Linked DNA regions of Homo sapiens: region 1 is linked to region 2. Evidence: promoter capture Hi-C in human tissues and cell types (Jung and others, 2019). All regions are on one chromosome and are shown on one strand. The core of a region is centred on a gene start or on the middle of the fragment in contact, and the rest is flanking DNA. Distances in the headings are between cores, read along the strand shown. Region 1 overlaps TPM4 (tropomyosin 4). Region 2 holds the start of EPHX3 (epoxide hydrolase 3).

Region 1 (4,436 bases), core at 730-3,229, 860 kb before region 2:
GTAAGCTGAGATCACGCCACTTCACTCCAGCCTGGGTGACAGAGTGAGACCCTGTCTCAAAAAAAAAGAAAAGAAAAAAAAAGGCTGAATAGGGGTTTATCAAGCAAAAGGAAAGCCACACCCAGTTGAGTGAATAGCAGGTGGTGGCTGAGGTGGGAGGATCGCTTGAGCCTGGGAGTTCAAGGCTGCAATGAACTATGATCATGCCACTGAATTCCAGCCTGGGCAACAGAGCGAAGCTCTGTCTCAAAAAAAAAAAAAAAAAAGTGGGGGGTGGAGGTGATGGGAGAACAAAGAATGTCTGTGAAACTGCAAAAGCAGGAGCAAGAATGAGGAAGAGGCTGGGAAATTCAGTGGGGTTCGGCCGTGGAAGTGTGTCCTTTGTTCCCGACGTAGCTGCCACGTAGCAACTGCTTTGGGTGCTGTTTCAAACTAAAAAGCCCAATTCCACCTCTGATCATTGCTATACCTTTGAGATGGTATTTCTGGAGGAACCAGGGGAATCAGGTGAGAGGCAGGCTCTGTATTTATTTATACAACTATGCTCAGATCTCGCTAAGAAGAGCCTCATGTTCTATCTCTATCCTCCTGAGATGGAGATCAAAGATGGTGCTCAGACCCCATGGAAGAGGACTCAAGAGTGTGCAGGAGAAATCCAGCTCTTTCTGTAGGGGAAAAACCCTGGCTGCCAGGCACCAACGCTACTGTTAAATAAAGGGCAGATTCCCCATAACCTGACAGGCTCCTGCATCCCTCGGGAGAAGAAAAGAACAAAGTCCAGCAAGCCACCCTCCAGCTCAAGCCAACCACCTACCTTTTCAGATGCAGCCTCCAGAGATTTCAGATTGTTAGTAACATTCTTGAGTTCTTCTTCCAGGTCACCACATTTTCTGCACAAAGACAAAGGATTTTTGTGTCTTATCTTCCCTTACAGCCGGCAATAATAGCAATCGCCCCAACAATAAATTTTCCAAAGGAGAAACCTACACAGCTCCCCCGGTGGGGGGCAGAAGGAATGTGGGGAGAAAATGTTAATGGATTTTTCTGCAGTGTGATACTATGGGCTTATCAAAGGCTTATCATACCAGGCAGAGGCGAGGTGCGCCCGAAGAGTATTTGGAGGGCTTGGAAAACACTCCTGGTCTTTTGCCAAGGGTAAGGCTGCAAGGACTTGTGAAATCTATGATTGATGAGGCCGACTCCGGAAGGTGTAAGAATGGGACTGAGGGCAGAAGGCGGGCAGAGAGCAATGGGAGTTTGCAGGGGACACTCCGGGAAGGAAGCCCGGAGTGGATTTGTGAAACCAGATCTCTCTCAGCACTCCCGGATGCTCTGTGGGGCTGAATTCCTCACCCGGGGCCAAGAGGACAGGTGTTTTGTTTTTCGGTGCTTGCTTGTGGGATTCTGGTTAAGCTTCTCACCTTCCCGCCAGGAATGTGTCACGGCCAAACACTGACAGGAGCAAAAGCATTTACATACTGACCGGGGGAGCCTGCCTTCTGGAGCAGGTCAGTGTTCTGTTAAGATGGCACAGCCCCCTGAGATATCCTCTCTGGGAAAATGGGACTTCTGGGCTTCCCTGCTGCCTCCTGTCTCACTCCTATTTCCTCATATCTTTGCAGAAAGGGTCAACACGTGGGCAGTGCTTCCCATGGCAGTAAGAACAAGTCACCACCTCTTTGTCACAGAAGCCAAGAGAAAAGATGAGCCATGAGCCCCTGACGCCCGTCCACTTGAGCAGAGACCCCGGTCAGAGCCAATTCCCAACACAGCCAGCTCCTTCCCACTCCGCCCCAGGAATCGAGCCAGCCTCGCTCAGTCCTGTTCTGCCACTCACAGTTCAGACACCTCCGCACGCTCCTCTGCCCTCTCCAGCTCACCCTCCAGGATGACCAGCTTACGAGCTACCTGCAGAGACAGAAAGGCCCAGCTGAGCCCGATCCCCACCAGCCGTGTCCTCTCCCATCCACTGCAGACAGCCCCCAATGATGCCCCACCCAGACCCCTAGACCAGCTGCAACATGGGTTTTTCTGGTGTTTCTTTTTTTTGCAGGGGGACGGAGTCTCCCTCTGTTGCCCAGGCTGGAGTGCAGTGGCACAGTCTCGGCTCACTGCAACCTCCACCTCCTGGGTTCAAGCGATTCTCCTGCCTCAGCCTTCCAAGTAGCTGGGACTACAGGCGCGTGCCACCACGCCCAGCTAATTTTTGTATTTTCAGTCGAGATGGGGTTTCACCGTAGTGGCCAGGCTGGTCTCGAATTCCTGACCTCCTGATCCACCTACCTCGGCCTCCCAGAGTGCTGGGATTATAGGCATGAGCCACCACACCTGGCCTCTTTTTTATTTTTTTATTCTTTTGAGACAGAGTCTCGCTCCATCACCCAGGCTGAAATGCAGTGGCTCAACCTTGACTCACTGCAACCTCTGCCTCCTGGGTTCAAGTGAATCTCCTGTCTCAGCCTTCCAAATAGCTGGGCTTACAGGCATGCACGACCATGCCCGGCTAATTTTTGTATTTTTTGTAGAGACAGGGTTTCACCACGTTGGCCAGGCTGGTCATGAACTCCTGACCTCAGGTGATCTGCCTGCCTTGGCCTCCCAAAGTGCTGGGATTACCGGCGTGAGCCACCATGCCCAGCCCTTTTATGTTTTTGACAGAGGGTCTTGCTCTGTCTCCAAGGCTGGAGTGCAGTGGCGTGGTCAGAGCTCACTGCAGCCTTGACTTCCCAGGTTCAAGCGATCCTCCTGCCTCAGCCTCCCAAGTAGCTGGGACTACAGGTGCATGCCACCACACCCAGCTAATTATTATTATTATTATTTTTAGAAATGGGGTCTCACTATGTTGCCCAGGCTGGTCTCAAACTCCTGGCCTCAGGTGATCCTCCCGCCTCGGTCGAAGTGCTGGGGTTACAGGTACGAGCCACCGCGCCTGGCCTTTTGCTGGCGCTTCAACTGAAAGAGCCATCCTGGGGCCTGGAGGAAATCCTGATTCTCTTCCTCAAGCCTGAGGAGCGAGGCAGACAAGAGGCGGGAGGGAAGAGCCGAGCCATCGAGGGAGGCAAAGGAGGGCCTGAGCTTGCATGGTCTGAAACTCCATGGCTTGGGACCACAATCCTCCATTTTTGCCCAACTGTGCCAAAACTCCCAGCTAACGACACAAGTGAGCTGATCATTCGGTTTTCCCATTACGTTAGACAAGCGTCCGCAGCACTTTCTGGCATCGTGGGAGATAGTTTCCTAGCCAAGTGGTTGTCTCTGGACAAACATATGTTCACGCAGGAGGACAGCTGACCTAACCGAGAGCTTCCTTTCGTTGGCCCCGGTGTCCTCCCTATCTCAGCAGATGCATTTCCTCCCACTTCCTGCTGCTGCGCCATCTGCCAGCCCCACTCACCTCCTCGTATTTGCGGTCAGCCTCTTCCGCAATGTGCTTGGCCTCTTTGAGCTGCATCTCCTGAATCTCCATCTTCTCCTCATCCTTCATGGCCCGGTTTTCTATCACCTTCATTCCTCTGCAAGGAGCAATCTCATCAGGACGGCCGTTCACTCACACCCCTCCACCCACCTCTCATCTATCTTTTCTTTCAGATGGAGTCTCGCTCTGTCATCCAGGCTGGAGTGCAGTGGCACGATCTCAGCTCACTGCAACCTCCACCTCCCGGGTTCAAGCGATTCTCCTGCCTCAGCCTCCTGAGTAGCTGGAATTACAGGCACCCGTCACCATGTCTGGCTAATTGCGTGAGACACCACCCCTAGTCCCATCTCTCATCTAAATGAGTCTCTGAATCTACTGAGCACTGTAACACACTGCAAAGATGGAACTCTGTGCACACATTTCCTTCATCTTGGTTTTTTTTTTTTTTTTTGAGATGGAGTCTCGCTCTGTCACCCAGGCTGGAGTGCAGTAGTGTGATCTCAGCTCACTGCAGCCTCCATCTCCTGGGTTCAAGCAATTCTCCTGTCTCAGCCTCCAGCATAGCCGGGACTATAGGCATGCACCACCGTGACCGGCTAACTTTTATATTTTTAGTAGAGAGGGGGTTTCGCCATGTTGGCCAGGCTGGTCTGGAACTCCTGACCTCAAGTGATCTGCCCGCCTTGACCTCCCAGAGTGCTGGGATTACAGGTGTGAGCCACCGCGCCCAGCCTCCCTTCATCTTTACTACCAGGCACTTTTCTAAGTGCCTTCACTTTCACAACTGCCCTATGGAGCAGGTAAATTATCCACATTTTACAAATGAAGAAACTAAGGCATAGAGAGAGGGTAAGTAACTTAAGGTTACAGAGCTGGTAAGTGGTAGAGCTGAGGCTCAGCCCTTGGCAGTCTGACTCCAGAGTCTGTGCCCCCTTTCTTTTTCTTTTATTTTGAGAGATGGTGTCTCACTCTGTTGCCCAGGTTGGAGTGCAGTGGTGCCCTGAGAGCTCACGGCAGCCTT
Region 2 (4,309 bases), core at 1,030-3,529:
GCAAGAGGTGACAAGTGGAGTGTTTTTAAAGGAAACTAACAGGGAAACAAAAAACGGCACGTCCGGGGTAGTGATGTGAGCAAGTCAGTGGCTGATGTCATACATTGGTTAAGTCAAGAAATAAAGGTCAGGCACGGTGGCTTGCATCTGTAATCCCACTTTGGGAGGTGGAGGCTTGAGGATTGCTTGAGGCCAGGAGTTTGAGACCAGCCTGGACAATATAGCAAGTCGTCTCTCTGAAAAGTTTTTGAAAAATTAGCTGAGTGTGGTGGCACAGGCCTGTAGTCCCAACTACAGGTTGTAGTGCTTGAGCCCAGGAGTTCGAGGCTGCAGTGAGCTATGATCGAAACTCCATCTGAAAAAAAAAGAAAAAGCTAAAAACGTTCCAGTGGCTGCTTCCGGGAGGAAGGGGAGGTGTAGCCACAGATCGCTGCCTTTTTCCCTACATCTTTGCGGATGGCTATTTTACAAGATGTATGTCTTCAGGCAAATGACTTCATCCTCGAATTTCAGGTTCATGATCTATACTACAGGAATGTGATTATGCTACTTAGACTTAATAGGGTTGCTCTATGGTTAAGTGATGGCTGTCCCTAAAATGTTCAAGGATATCGGGAGAAGGTTGCAAAATAGGAGGAAGAAGCTGGCTGCTTTTTTTTTTTTTTTTGAGACGGAGTCTCGCTCTGTCGCCCTGGCTGGAGTGCAGTGGCGCAATCTCAGCTCACTGCAACCTCCGCCTCCTGGGTTCACGCCGTTCTCCTGCCTCAGCCTCCCTAGTAGCTGGGACTACAGGCGCCCGCCACCACGCCTGGCTAATTTTTTGTATTTTTAGTAGAGACAGGGTTTCACCATGTTAGGATGGTCTCGATCTCCTGACCTCGTGATCCGCCCGCCTCGGCCTCCCAAAGTGCTGGGATTACAGGCGTGAGCCACCGCGCCTGGCCAGAAGCTGGCTTCTTGCAGGGACAGCAGGGCCGCAAGGCTCTGTGACTCTAGGCCCCATCACACCCGGCCCTGTCCCACTTCCTCTTTCGGCCAGAACCCCAGAACTCCAGTCATTCATAGGCCGGGTCCTCCTCGGGGGAACCAGGCCTGCCCCCTAGGAATCAGGGTATCCACGCCTCCTCGGCCCGCTCTCGGAGCCTGGGCCTCAACACCTGCAGATTGGCTCCCGGGCCAGGACCTGTCGCTTGAACATCAGTGGCCGCCGCCGTCCAATCACAGACGTACAGGGGCGGGCTGGCGGGCCTGTTGGGCCAGCAGGAGGACGGCGCCGGGCCGAGGCCGCTGGACCCGCCGTTGGAACCACAGCTGGGTGAAGTCAGTGCTGCTAGGTCTTTGGAGCCAGACCGAAGGGAGGGTCGCGCGCCCCTGGGTGGGTAGCACCAGGCGGCGGCCGTCGGCCGGGCCTCCCGAAGCCTCCTCCAGCCGCTAATACCGCCCGCGCCTCCCTCCTAGTCCTAGACCTGGCATTGCCTGTCCCTCTTCTTCGTCTTCCAGACCCTCCTGACCCGCCATATTAGGTCCCGGCCCCGCCCTCCGTCTCATTGCCCATTGCCCACCCCACCCCACCGCCCCCTCCCCGGCCTACCGTCAGCTCATTGGCCCAGGCTCCCGCCTTCTTCGCCCAATGTTAGGCCTCACCTCCTCTAGGATCCACCCTCTCCCCGCCCACCCGCATAAGCCAGGCCCACCATTCCAACTCTTTCTCCTTTTTGGCTTGTAGGCCGCACCTACTCTGCATATGCCCCGCCCCTCACTCCAGGTGTCGCCCACTTAACTGAAGATCCAGGATCCCCTCCTTAAGGTTTGTCTGGGCTCGGAATTGCCTTTTTTTTTTTTCTTTTTTGAGACGGAGTTTCCCTGTTGTGACCCAGGCTGGAGTACAGTGGCGCGATCTCAGCTCACTGCAACCTCCACGTCCCGGGTTCAAGCGATTCTCCTGCCTCAGCCTCCCAAGTAGCTGGGACTACAGGCGCCCGCCACCACGCCCAGCTAATTTTTGTATTTTTAGTAGAGACGGGGTTTCACCACGTTGCCCAGGCTGGTCTCGAGCTCTTGATCTCAGGTGATCCGCCCGCCTCGGCCTACCAAAGTGCTGGGATTACAGGCGTGAGCCACCGCACCCGGCCCGGAATTGCCGCCTTTAGACCCTCACCCACCCGCTGCTGAGTCTTCCTGGGCCCCGCCCCGGCCCTAAGCCCCGCACAGGACCTGCTAGGCCCCGCCCATTTATTTCCCCCCTTTCCAACCTCTTCCTCCCCAGCCTCCGCACCCTACCCTTGTTTCCTGTCCCTGTCGCGCCCAGGTGTTTACCTGGCACTCAGGTGAGTGGTGCGCTCTGGCTGTTTTCTGTCGGAGCCGCCCGCCTCTTCCTTCAGCGCGTCCCACAAATCCCGACGGCACGGAGGGGCCCCAGGCCAAGGGCGATGGGCCCCTGAGCCCTGACACCGCTTCGCCGCTGCTGCAGGTGCCCCTGGCCGGCAGCGCCGCCGTGGTCCCGGAGCGCGGCGACATGCCGGAGCTGGTGGTGACCGCGCTGCTGGCGCCGTCGCGCCTGTCGCTGAAGCTGCTGCGCGCCTTCATGTGGAGCCTGGTGTTCTCGGTGGCGCTGGTGGCCGCGGCGGTCTACGGCTGCATAGCGCTCACGCACGTGCTGTGCCGGCCCCGGCGCGGCTGCTGCGGGCGCCGTCGGAGCGCGTCCCCCGCCTGCCTGAGCGACCCCTCGCTGGGTGAGCACGGTTTCCTGAACCTCAAGGTGATCGCACGGGGGCGCTATCGGGGCTGCGGGGTCGCGTGGGGTCGAGACGGTTCAAGCCTCGGGAGAGAGGGTTCCCCAGGCTTCAGGCTGTGCCCTCCCCCTAGAGCTCGGGCCTGCGTCTGCACTATGTCTCGGCTGGACGAGGTAACGGACCCCTCATGCTGTTTCTGCACGGCTTCCCTGAGAACTGGTACGTCTGGGGCCAGGGGCCTGAGGCCCACGGGACTCGGGGGCAGGTGGAGCTTGGGCTCCCAAGAGGCAGGGAGGAGGGCTGTATAGATCGGGACAAGCTGAACATAGATGGGGATAGGGGTACTGAGCCAGCATACCCAGGATCCCTAGGCCCTGAAGGGACAGGACAAAGGGGTATTGAGGTTGATTGAAGTTCCCTGGATTCAGGGTGTAGCTGGCTTCAGCCTCAGCCTCTGCCTCTGCCTGGGATTCCCCATCCTCCTTTTAGGGGAAGTTTAGAGCAGGAAGGAGGGTTTGCCAATGGTTGCTGATGTGCGTAGGGTGCAGGTGCAACCTGAGGGCCCTGACTCAGCCTCCCTCCCTCGCCCGCCTGGCAGGTTCTCCTGGCGTTACCAGCTCCGGGAGTTCCAGAGCCGCTTCCATGTTGTGGCTGTGGACTTGCGAGGCTATGGCCCCTCGGATGCACCTCGGGATGTGGACTGCTACACAATCGACCTGCTGCTGGTGGACATCAAAGATGTCATCCTAGGCCTGGGTGCAGACATACCCCCATCCTAGGCGTGGCCTCCCTCATCCTGCACACACGCATACCCCCGCTTTCTCCTTGCTGGAACCTACTTCCCCCATCCCTGCTTCAGTCCTACTGGGCACCTCACTTATGCGAGCTCCTTGAATTCCCACAGGTTACTCGAAGTGCATCCTTGTGGCCCATGACTGGGGTGCCCTCCTTGCCTGGCATTTCTCCATCTACTACCCATCCCTGGTCGAGCGGATGGTTGTGGTCAGTGGTGCCCCCATGTCGGTGTACCAAGGTGTGTGTGGGAGTCCGGGACACTGGGATGTACTTATGTGCAAGGGGGCAGGGACATGTGTCTGTGTTTTCAATTCTCTGTATACCTGTCAACACATCAGGGGCTGAGGGTGCAGCAATCAACCCAGGTCCCTTCGGTTGTGGAACTCCTCATTCGGAAATTAATGACACGCCAGACCCAGTGGCTCACACCTGTAATCCCAGCCCTCCGGGAGGCTGAGGTGGGAGGATCACTTGAGGCCAGGAGTTCAAGACCAGTCTGGTCAACATAGCAAGACCCCAACTGTCTCTACAAAAAAAAAAAAAAAATGTAATTAGCCAGGCATTGGTGGTGCATGCCTGTAATCCCAGCTACTCGGGAGGCTGATGCAGGAGAATCTCTTGAACCTGGGAGGTGGAGGTTGCAGTGAGCTGAGATCATGCCATTGCACTCCAGCCTAGGCAACAAGAGCAAAACTCCATCTCAAAAAATAAATAAATAAAATAAAGTATGGCCAGGCGTGGTGGCTCCTGCCTGTAATCCCTGCACTTTGGGAGGCCAAAGC

What was found. The method cuts DNA at HindIII sites, captures the fragments that hold promoters and counts their contacts. A contact is called where the count stands out against the background at its distance.
Region 1: a contact is called between a fragment that was not itself captured here and the fragment with the promoter of EPHX3 in region 2, in 1 of the 25 tissues and cell types used here (dorsolateral prefrontal cortex).

What each region holds. Positions count from the first base shown.
Region 1 is chr19:16,085,499-16,089,934 of GRCh38, reverse strand. It overlaps TPM4 (tropomyosin 4), which reads right to left. Exons shown (of 8, transcript NM_003290.3): 3 at 3,395-3,512; 4 at 1,838-1,908; 5 at 815-890. Among named protein-coding and RNA genes, the nearest start is that of TPM4, 11 kb to the right of the region's middle. RefSeq lists an enhancer at 3,398-3,447. The HindIII fragment of the contact is 7,259 bases long and covers 1-4,436 here.
Region 2 is chr19:15,230,418-15,234,726 of GRCh38, reverse strand. It overlaps EPHX3 (epoxide hydrolase 3), which reads left to right and starts at 2,279. Exons shown (of 7, transcript NM_024794.3): 1 at 2,279-2,758; 2 at 2,866-2,951; 3 at 3,331-3,488; 4 at 3,637-3,765. The coding sequence starts at 2,516. RefSeq lists a silencer at 1,530-1,689 and an enhancer at 2,028-2,529. The HindIII fragment of the contact is 16,546 bases long and covers 1-4,309 here.